3 separate regions of the Homo sapiens genome follow, and all the other regions are linked to region 1. Evidence: promoter capture Hi-C in human tissues and cell types (Jung and others, 2019). All regions are on one chromosome and are shown on one strand. Each heading gives the region's core, a stretch centred on a gene start or on the middle of the fragment in contact. The rest is flanking DNA. Distances are from core to core; before and after follow the strand shown.

Evidence for each region. The method cuts DNA at HindIII sites, captures the fragments that hold promoters and counts their contacts. A contact is called where the count stands out against the background at its distance.
Region 2: a fragment that was not itself captured here is called in contact with the fragment with the promoter of MICALL1 in region 1 in 1 of the 25 tissues and cell types used here (liver).
Region 3: a fragment that was not itself captured here is called in contact with the fragment with the promoter of MICALL1 in region 1 in 1 of the 25 tissues and cell types used here (spleen).

What each region holds. Positions count from the first base shown.
Region 1 is chr22:37,904,420-37,907,578 of GRCh38, reverse strand. It overlaps MICALL1 (MICAL like 1), which reads right to left and starts at 1,282. Exons shown (of 16, transcript NM_033386.4): 1 at 1,011-1,282. The coding sequence starts at 1,156. RefSeq lists enhancers at 1-143, 144-959, 960-1,775, 1,776-2,591 and silencers at 730-839, 950-1,669. The HindIII fragment of the contact is 31,369 bases long and covers 1-3,159 here.
Region 2 is chr22:38,306,800-38,309,783 of GRCh38, reverse strand. All of the region lies in intron 6 of TPTEP2-CSNK1E (TPTEP2-CSNK1E readthrough), which reads left to right. The region is part of intron 2 of CSNK1E (casein kinase 1 epsilon); the gene reads left to right. Among named protein-coding and RNA genes, the nearest start is that of CSNK1E, 9.1 kb to the left of the region's middle. The HindIII fragment of the contact is 4,739 bases long and covers 1-2,984 here.
Region 3 is chr22:37,437,236-37,440,105 of GRCh38, reverse strand. No RefSeq gene overlaps it. Among named protein-coding and RNA genes, the nearest start is that of ELFN2, 11 kb to the right of the region's middle. The HindIII fragment of the contact is 6,756 bases long and covers 1-2,870 here.

The DNA.
Region 1 (3,159 bases), core at 33-2,532:
TGGCAAGAGGGCTGCATGCGAAAGGGGTAGGGACCAGAACTCTCCTCCCTGATTCACAGGTGAGACCTGAAGTGCAAGGAATGGCACCAGATAAACTCACCCAGTGTTTTAGGAATGAAGGGACGAAAGGAGGAGAGGTTCCAGGGCTCAAGGCAGAGAGAGCAAAGACAGAGGCTCCAAGTCAACTGTTCCGGGGAGTCTGAATGCATTTTCCCATGAGAACCTCATTGGGCAGCTCTGGGCAGGAAGGGGCCATTTCACAACCTGCAGCACCCGGTTGGTGTCTATCAATCGGATCCTAGGAGTCTTCCCAACATTGCCGGCCTGTGACTCCTCTTGCGCGCCCCACCTGCGTGCCCCACTGAGGAGGGCTGCAGGGCCATCGAGCACACACCCGGGAGGCAGGGCTGCGTCCTAAGTTGGGGGGCGTGGGGAAAGCACAGGGTCTGTACATCCATTCATCCAACACCTGTTAGCCGAGGTCTCCTCTGTGCCGGGAACTGTGCTACTGTCCGGAGACAAGCTCCTATTTGGGGGTCAGAGAAGTGGGGGTTCACCTGCACACCCGGAGCAAGGGGCCACCCCGAGTGGGAAGCCTCGGGGGAGAGGGGAGGCCCGGCGAGCCCGTGGAGAAGAGTTTAGGGTAGGAGAGGCCCAGGGCCCCCAAAGAGGGCTCAACACCCCTTCAAAGAGGTCAAGGGCTTAGGGGTTCAGCGATCCTCGGCGGAAATCAGCGCTTTGTGGGCGGGGCCAGTGTCCCCGCGGAGGGACCAGCCTCGGGGGAGAGTTCGGGATCCCACGGGCGGGGTCAGGGCGGCCGGGCGGGGGAGGGGCGCCCTGGGCCGGGGTCTCAGGGACCCGCCCGGCGTCCGGGGCCGTCGGGGGGGTCGGCGTCTCCGTGTCCGGGGGCGGCGCCTGTCACCGCCCGGGCTTCGTGTTACTGAGGGGGGGCGGCGGTCGCGGCCCCAGCCCGCCCCGCGCCGCCCGCTCGCCCGGGGCCCCGCACTCACAGCAGGTCGGGCCGGTGCCGGTGCAGGATGGCGCAGAAGGCCAGGCCGTCCCGGAAGGAGCTGCTCAGGTCGCGGATCTCCACGCCGCGGTAGCCCTCGCACTGGCGGCGGCACCAGGCCAGCAGCGCGCCCCGCGGCCCAGCCATGACCCCGCGGCCCGCCCGGCTCCGGCTCTGGCTTCGGGGCCCCGGCTTGGCCGGGACGGCGGCCGCCGCGCGGGCCCGGTTTCCGGCTGCGGCTGCGGCTCCGAGCTCGGGCGCCGACCGGCAGGCGAGGGGAGGGGCGGAGGCGGGGCCGCGGTGTCCTCGCTCGGGCGCCCCGCGGCCCTGCCCTAACCTGCCCGAGCAGCGCCGCCGCGTGGCCCGGCCCGGCCGGCCGCCGCCTACTCCGCGCTGCCCGCTCGCCTCATTGTGGGCCGGTCGTGGGAGCGGGCGTCCCGCCGCCTCCGTCCGCGCCGGAGGCGCGCCCCACCCAGCAGCAGCTCCGCCTCCAGTGCGGAGCCCACCCCTACCAAGACGGGCCGGCGCCCCATCGCCCGCCCCTCGACGGCGCCGGGCTCCCGCTGCTCCACTGGGTGCCCGCGAAGCCCCCGCACCCGCCGCAAGCGGACCACTCCCCACGATGACTTCACCGCCGCGGCCGCCGCCGCGCCACCCACCGGGAGCCCTCCACCCTTTGGAGGCGGGACACCTCGTGCTCCCATCCGGCCTCCTTCCCGCTCCTAATGACCGCAAATCCCCCCTTCCACCCCTAGCTTGAAACTTTGGGGAGGCAGTTCCCCTGCAGACCTCAGAGCACCCCCCCCCGGATAGCCACCAGCTTCCCTCATCCCGGCTCCCCACCCTAAAGCACCGCTGAGCTGGAAGTTGTCATGTCCACCATCCCCTCCCCCATAGCTTGGCAGGGAGACCCATGCGCCCCTCCGCCACCTTTGGTCCAGGTGTCCCCTAGGTGATTCACTGAGCTCCCCTCAGCCCCTGTGTAAGCTCAGGGATCTCGTCCCTCCCCACTGCGGCCTGCCGGGTCCCCTCAGCCATGGTTAGTGTGGTGGTGGTTTGAGTTCCTATGGGAAGGACCTAGGCCAAGGAGGCCCCTGCCTGGGAGGCATACAGGCAGTTTGTATCTGGCCCTGGAACCTCCCCAAGGCTCATTCTCTATCTTTGCCGTCTTCAAAACCCCCGCCAGCCAACCGACCCTTCCAGCCAGCCAACCCTTCCAGCCAGCCGACCCTTCCGCAGAGGCCCCTCCTGACTCTCCCACAGATGAATCAGCCTCCATCTGCTGCAGAGGTGGTGATGTCACCCTGACCCATGCAATAGTTAGCTGGAGTGGGTATTTCGCTCCCTCCCAAGGGAAGGAACAGGGTCTTAGTCATCTTCATCACCCCTGAGCACTCAGGGGAGTGGAAAGATCAGGCATTTTGGAGCCCTATTAACCCAATCTCCAATCCTGGCTTTCCCCACTCCCTTAGTCATGTGATCTTGTGCCTCCCTGGACCTCAGTTTCCACGACTTAAAAATGGAGATAATACCTGCTTTACAAGGTGGCTGAGAGGATTAAGATGTAAAGTGCCTTACCCTTTAGTTATCACTCATAAATTCTATTGACTCCTGGTACTTGGTAAACATGATGAAATGGACTGAAATATTTTGTACCCAGATTGTCATCTGGGCCATTCTGGGTAAATTATCAAGGAGAGAGGCCGACTTAGGGAATTCTACCTCTTCAAAGTCCACTGAGTCCCAGTCCAGAATACTGGCCCAGGGCCTGGAGAACCCAGCTTGCCAATCTGGGCTGGCCTAACACTCCTGCAACTGGAAGGCCGCCATCTTGGCTCAGTATATGGACTCTCAGGCCACCTAGGAAGAGCATGGCCAGAGTGCCTGGCTAGCCCTCTGGACTTCTCACCAGCCCTGAGCTGCCAACTCCTGCCCTGTCCCCTGTGGGATAACAGTGGCAGGAAAGCAGGATTCCGGATGCTTTTTATGAAATCAGGGACTTGGGTTCAGGATCCTGACACCAGCATCCACCTAGGCCTTCAAAGACCACCCAGGACTCTCATTAAAACCTAAGGGGGGCGGGGTTGGGCACCATGGCTCATACCTGTAATCCCAGCATTTTGGGAGGCCGAGGCAGGTGGATCACCTGA
Region 2 (2,984 bases), core at 478-2,977, 400 kb before region 1:
TCCACATGTCAAACAGAAATGCAAACAGTAGGCCAGGCACAGTGGCTCACGCCTGTAATCCCAGCACTTGGGAGACCAAGGCGGGCAGATCATTTGAGGTCAGGAGTTTGAGACCAGCCCGGCCAACATGGTGAAACCCCATCTCTACTAATAATACAAAAATTAGCCAGGCGTGGTGGTGTCTGCTTGTAATCCCAGTTACTCGGGAGGCTGAGGCATGAGAATCGCTTGAACCCGGGAGGCAGAAGTTGCAGTGAGCCGAGATCATGCCACTGCACTCCAGCCCAGGCGACAAAGTGAAGCTGTCTCAAAAAAAAAAGAAAAAAGAAATACAAACAGTAGTACTCGAAGAGTGGAGTAAGGGCTCGAGGGGAAGAGGGCCCTGTCTACCACTACCTCCCCAGCACCTCTCCTCCCTGCACACATCTGCCGAATCACCAAGTGCTGCAGGCCCTGCCTCCAAAGTGTCAATCAGTTTCTGCACCCTGCCCAGGCAGGGCCACCGTCAGCTCTTGCCTGGTCTCTGTAGTGGCCTTCCCAGGCCTTCCACTACCCCTCTAGCCTCCTCCAGCCCTTTCGTATCCACCAGGTAGCCTCAACAGGGTGATTTTTGTCCCCCAGGAGACATATGTCAAGATCTGGAGACCTTTTGGTTGTTACAATTCAGGGGGAAAGGGGTGCCCTGGCATCTAGTGGGTAGAAGTCATGGGTGCTGTTAGACTGTGCAGTGCCCAGGGCAGCCCCACAACCAGGAATTCTCCAGCTCCAGTGTCAGTAGTGCCACGGTTGAGAGATCCTGTGATCACACACCTGAACATGGCCCTTGGTGCCTCAGGCTGAAGGCCAGGATCTTAGCCGGCCATTCAAGACCCTTCAGATCTCTTCCCTGCCCACCTCTTCCACTGTCTTTTTCTGCCACCCCATGGTTCCCGCTGCACCTGCTGCTGTTGGGCCTCTGCTTGTGCCGTGACCTCTCTTGTCTGTCCAGTACAGTCCTGTTTGGGAGCCAGGAGCCCTTGCAGCCTGCCCTCCCGGAGGCTCTCCTTTCCTCATAGCATGGCTTATTCCCTCTTCCCCTCCTCCCACTGGGTGGACACCGGCTCATCTCTAGCCTAGGGGCTGCACTTCCCACCAAGCCGAACATCATGGAGCATTGACTGTGTGCCAGGCACTCTTGTAAGCATGTTTGTCTGTCAGAACATCCCAATGAGCCAGATAGTGTCATCGGTTTACACATGAGGTACCTGGGGCTCAGAGGGGTGAAGTGCCTTGTCCGACGACCCCTGGCCAGGGGATGTCCGAGTCAGGATTTGGGCTCTAGTAGGTTGGCTCTGAAACTCACACTTCAACCGCTGCACTCTCCTGCCTCTCTGCTCATGGGGAAATGGAGCATGGCCAGGGGACTCTAAGGATCCTCACTGTCCCCTGGAAACCTGTGTGGCTCATCCCAGTGACGAGCATTGATGTGTCAAAAGCTCTTTACAGTTTGCAAAGTACTTTCATTCCTGTTGCTGGCTAGATTGAGTTATTCATTCTGTTTTTCTTTTTCTTTTATTAAAAATCCAAATACTCAAAAATCAAAACACAAAAATGTGTTAAGTGAAAGAAGCCAGTCACAAAAAATCACGTTGTATGATTCTGTTTGATTCTATTTCTGTGAAATGTCCAGAAAAGACAAATCCATAGAGACAGAATGTAGATTAGTTGGGGGGCAGGGGATGGAGCGAGGAGATAGGACCTTACCCCACTAAAGGCTACAGGTGTTTTCAGGGTGATGAAAATACAGCCCTCCTGGGCCAGGCACAGTGGCTCATGCCTGTAATTCCTGCACATTGGGAGGCTGAGGCAGGTGAATCACTTGAGCCCAGGAGTTGGAGACCAGCCTAGAGATGGCAAACCCTGTCTACAAAAAATACAAAAATTAGCCAGGTGTGGTGGCTTGCGCCTGTAGTCCAGCTACTCGAGAGGCTGAAGTGGGAGGCTCACTTGCGCCCCAGAGGTTGAGGCTGCAGTGAGCTGTGTTAGTGCCACTACAGTCCAGCCTGGGTGGCAGATTGAGACCCTGTCTCAAAAAGAAAAAGAAAATACAGCCCTCCACCTTCGGTACCTGTGGGGAATAGGTTCCAGGATCCCCCTCAGATACCAGAATCCTCTGATTCTCAAGTTCCTGATATAAAAAGCTGTAGTATTTGTATATAAGCTACGCGCATCCTCTGTATACTTTTTTTTGTTTTGAGACGGAGTCTCGCTGTGTCGCCAGGCTGGAGTGCAGTTGTGTGATCTCGGCTCACTGCAACCTCCGCCTCCCAGGTTCAAGAGATTCTCCTACCTCAGCCTCCTGAGAGCTGGGATTACAGGCGCTCCCACGGGAGCACCTTGGCTAATTTTTGTATTTTTAGTAGAGATGGGGTTTCATCATGGTGGTCAGGCTGGTCTGGAACTCCTTGCCTGGTGATCCGCCTGCCTCAGCCTCCCAAAATGCTGGCACCTGGCCTTCTCCATATACTTTAAATCATCTCTAGATCACTTATAATACCTAATACAATGTAAATGCTATGTAAATAGTTATTGTACTGTATTTTTAATTTTTATATTATTTACCTATTTATTTTTGAGACATGGTCTTGCTCTGTCACCCAGGCTGGAGTGTGGTGGTGTGATCATAGCTCACCGCAACCTTGACTTACTAGGTTCAAGCAGTCCTCCTGCCTCAGCCTCCCAGGTAGCTGGGACCACAGGCACGTGCTACCACGCCTGGCTAATATTTGTATTTTTTGTAGAGATAGGGTCTCACTATGTTGCTTAGGCTGGTCTCGAACCGCTGGACTCAAGTAATCCTCCTCAGCCTCCCAAAGTGGTAGTACTACAGTTGTGCATCACTGCACCCAACCTATTTCTTATTGTTGTGTTGTTATTTTTTATTTTCTCCCCCCACGTATTTTTGATCCATGGTTGAATCGGCAGATGCGGAACCCACAGCAGAT
Region 3 (2,870 bases), core at 332-2,831, 470 kb after region 1:
CACTGTAACCTCCACCTCCCAGGTTCAAGTGATTCTCCTGCCTCAGCCTCCCAAGTAGCTAAGATTACAGGTGCACACCACCACACCCGGCTAATTTTTTTGTATTTTTAGTAGAGATGGGGTTTTACCATGTTGGCCAGGCTGGTCTTGAACTCCTGACCTCAGGTGATCTGCCTGTTTCGGCCTCCCAAAGTGCTGGGGTTACAGGCATGAGCCACCACGCCCAGCTGTAAGTGCTTTTTATAAATACTGTGGTGGTTTTAAAACATGACCCCAATTTTGGACACTCTTCCTGTTGAAGGGTGGGGTCTATGTCCCTTCCTTTTAATTGTGGGCTGGACTTAGTGACTCTATTATATCAATAGAAAACAGCAGAAGTGATGTTTTGTCATTTCCAAGGGCAAGTGTTTTCCTCCTGTTTCTCCCGGGATGCTTGTTCTGGGGGAAGTCAGCTGCCATGTAATAAGCCCGGCTCCTCTGGTTCTGCTCTGCTGCAGATAGCCACTTCAGTCACCAGCTCCAACAGAGCTGCCAACCGATGGCAGGCATCAGGTGCCAGCTGTGCGGGTGAACCATCTTGATTGTACCCATCCCAGCTGAGCTATCAGATAATGGCAGCTCCAGCAGACATCTGAGGCTAACTGCATGAAAACCCCAAGCAAAAACAACCCAGCTAAGCCCTTCCATTCTTGACCCACAAAATTTTGAGCAAAATAAAGCAGGTGTGCCTTTTTTTTTTTCGCACCACTAGAATTTCTAATTAGCAATGATCACCAGAAGACATAGAACTCATTTAATCTCCATTTCTCAGATAAAGAAATTGAGACCCAGAGAGATTAAGCAACTTGCATATGTTCTCATGGAAGAGATAAGAGATGAGTACAGTTGATTCCAATATTCCGCCTCTTGACGATAATAAGGGGAGAAAATGCAAAGTTAACAAGTAGTTATGCAAAACATGTAAAAATGTGCCAGCCAGGCTCAGGGCTGTTGAGGAACCCCTTGTTTTTGTTTTTGTTTTTGTTTTTGGAGACAGGTTCTTGCTCTGTTACCCAGGCTGGAGTGCAGTGGTACAATCATAGCTCACTGTAGCCACACCTCCTGGGCTCAAGTGATCTTCCCACCTCAGCCTCCCAAGTAGCTGGGACTACAGATGACACCACTGTGCCTGATTGATTTTTTTTTTTTTTTTTGGTAGAGATGGGGTCTTATTGTGTTGCCCAGGCTGGTCTCAAATTCCTGAGCTGGATGATCCTCCCATCTTGACCTCCCAAAGTGCTGGGATTACAGGCATAAGCCATGGCACCCGGTTTCCTTTGGACCCATTTTGGATGGATGGACTGTATAGTACACACAGCACCTTGAAGAACTGAGCAATTCCTGCAAAAATCGCAATTAATTTCACATTTCAAATTTGCAAAATGTCAGTGAATGAAATTCTAACAACCTTCTTTCATCTGAAACCTCCAAACTGCCTGGGGATCATCAGGGTTTTGAGACCGCACAGGGGAAGCTCTGACCCCTTGACTCAGCATTTTAAGCTCAGAAGCTTCCCGGTGAAAAATATTAGAGCCATTAAATTAAAGGACATCAAATTTAACTGTTGGATGCACCTTGGAGTCCATTGCATCTAACCTTCCACCCAGGGCAAGACAAGAAAACACATGTGTGAGTGAAGCAACCGTTCGATATGACGGTCTGAGCAGCTGCGGCAGACAGCTTGTGATTAACAGTTAAGGAACTGCAGAGAAAATATGGACATCAGATCACAGGGCTCAGGTGGTCACTGAGGCCGGGGACGGGGCCAGCCTCAAGGGTATGTAACCTGCGCACTCGCTCAGGGCTCCCCACCTGGAAGGATCCCGTGCTTGGTTTAATGCTCTGCTATTGCTGTCTTGAAATTCATAATAATTTTTGAACAAGGAGTCCAGAGTCCAGATTTTCATTTTTCACTGAGCTTCACAAAATCGGTAGCTGGTTCAGGCTGGGGAGGTCGGGGGCTGGTTCAGGAATGACCGTTTCAGACAGGTGAGCAGGACAGGCAAGACCTGGGGGCTAGAAAACCCCATTAGTTTGGGAAGCAGTGACTTGCCCAAGATCACCAGTCAGGAAGTGGTAGCACAAGGGTTTAAACCCAGGCCTCTCGGACTCCAGGGTCTGTGGTCTTATTTTTTGAGTCGGAGTTTTGCTTTTGTCGCCCAGGCTGGAGTGCAATGGCGCAATCTCTGCTCACTGCAACCTCCGCCTCCTGGGTTCAAGCAAGTCTCCAGCCTCGTCCTCCTGAGTAGCTGGGTTTACAGATGCCCACCACCACAGCCTGATAATTTTTGTATTTTTAGTAGAGCTGGGATTTAACCATGTTGGCCAGCCTGCTCTTGAACTCCTGACCTCAAGTGATCCACCTGCCTTGGCCTCCCAAATTGTTGGGATTACAGGTGTGAGCCACTGCGCCCAGCCTGGCCTGTGGTCTTAAATACTTTACTCTCTGTCTCCTGGGAAGGACCTCACACCTGAGCTGCTCTCTTGACTGTTCTTAAAATTGTGGCTTTCTCTTCCAAGGAGACTTCCTGGATTGCTCCAGCAGTTGTGCTCACCACTCCCTCCTTCCTTCATTCTTCCTTCCCATGGTCCTCGTGCCTGCCCCCGTTTCCTTTCCCCACTCCTCTTGGCTGGCATCTACCATGGCTTCCAGGCCCCCAGGCCCATTCTGATGGGGCCTTACCCCCGAAAAAAGAAGTCTTGGGCTCAGTTTTCTTGCTGCATACCGAATAGACTCCATGGTACAGCTTTTTTCACCTTCCCACTCTTAGAGCTGGGCTTCTGTCTCAGTTTCCCTGCCTAAAACTCCAATGAATGTGGGATAATGGGAG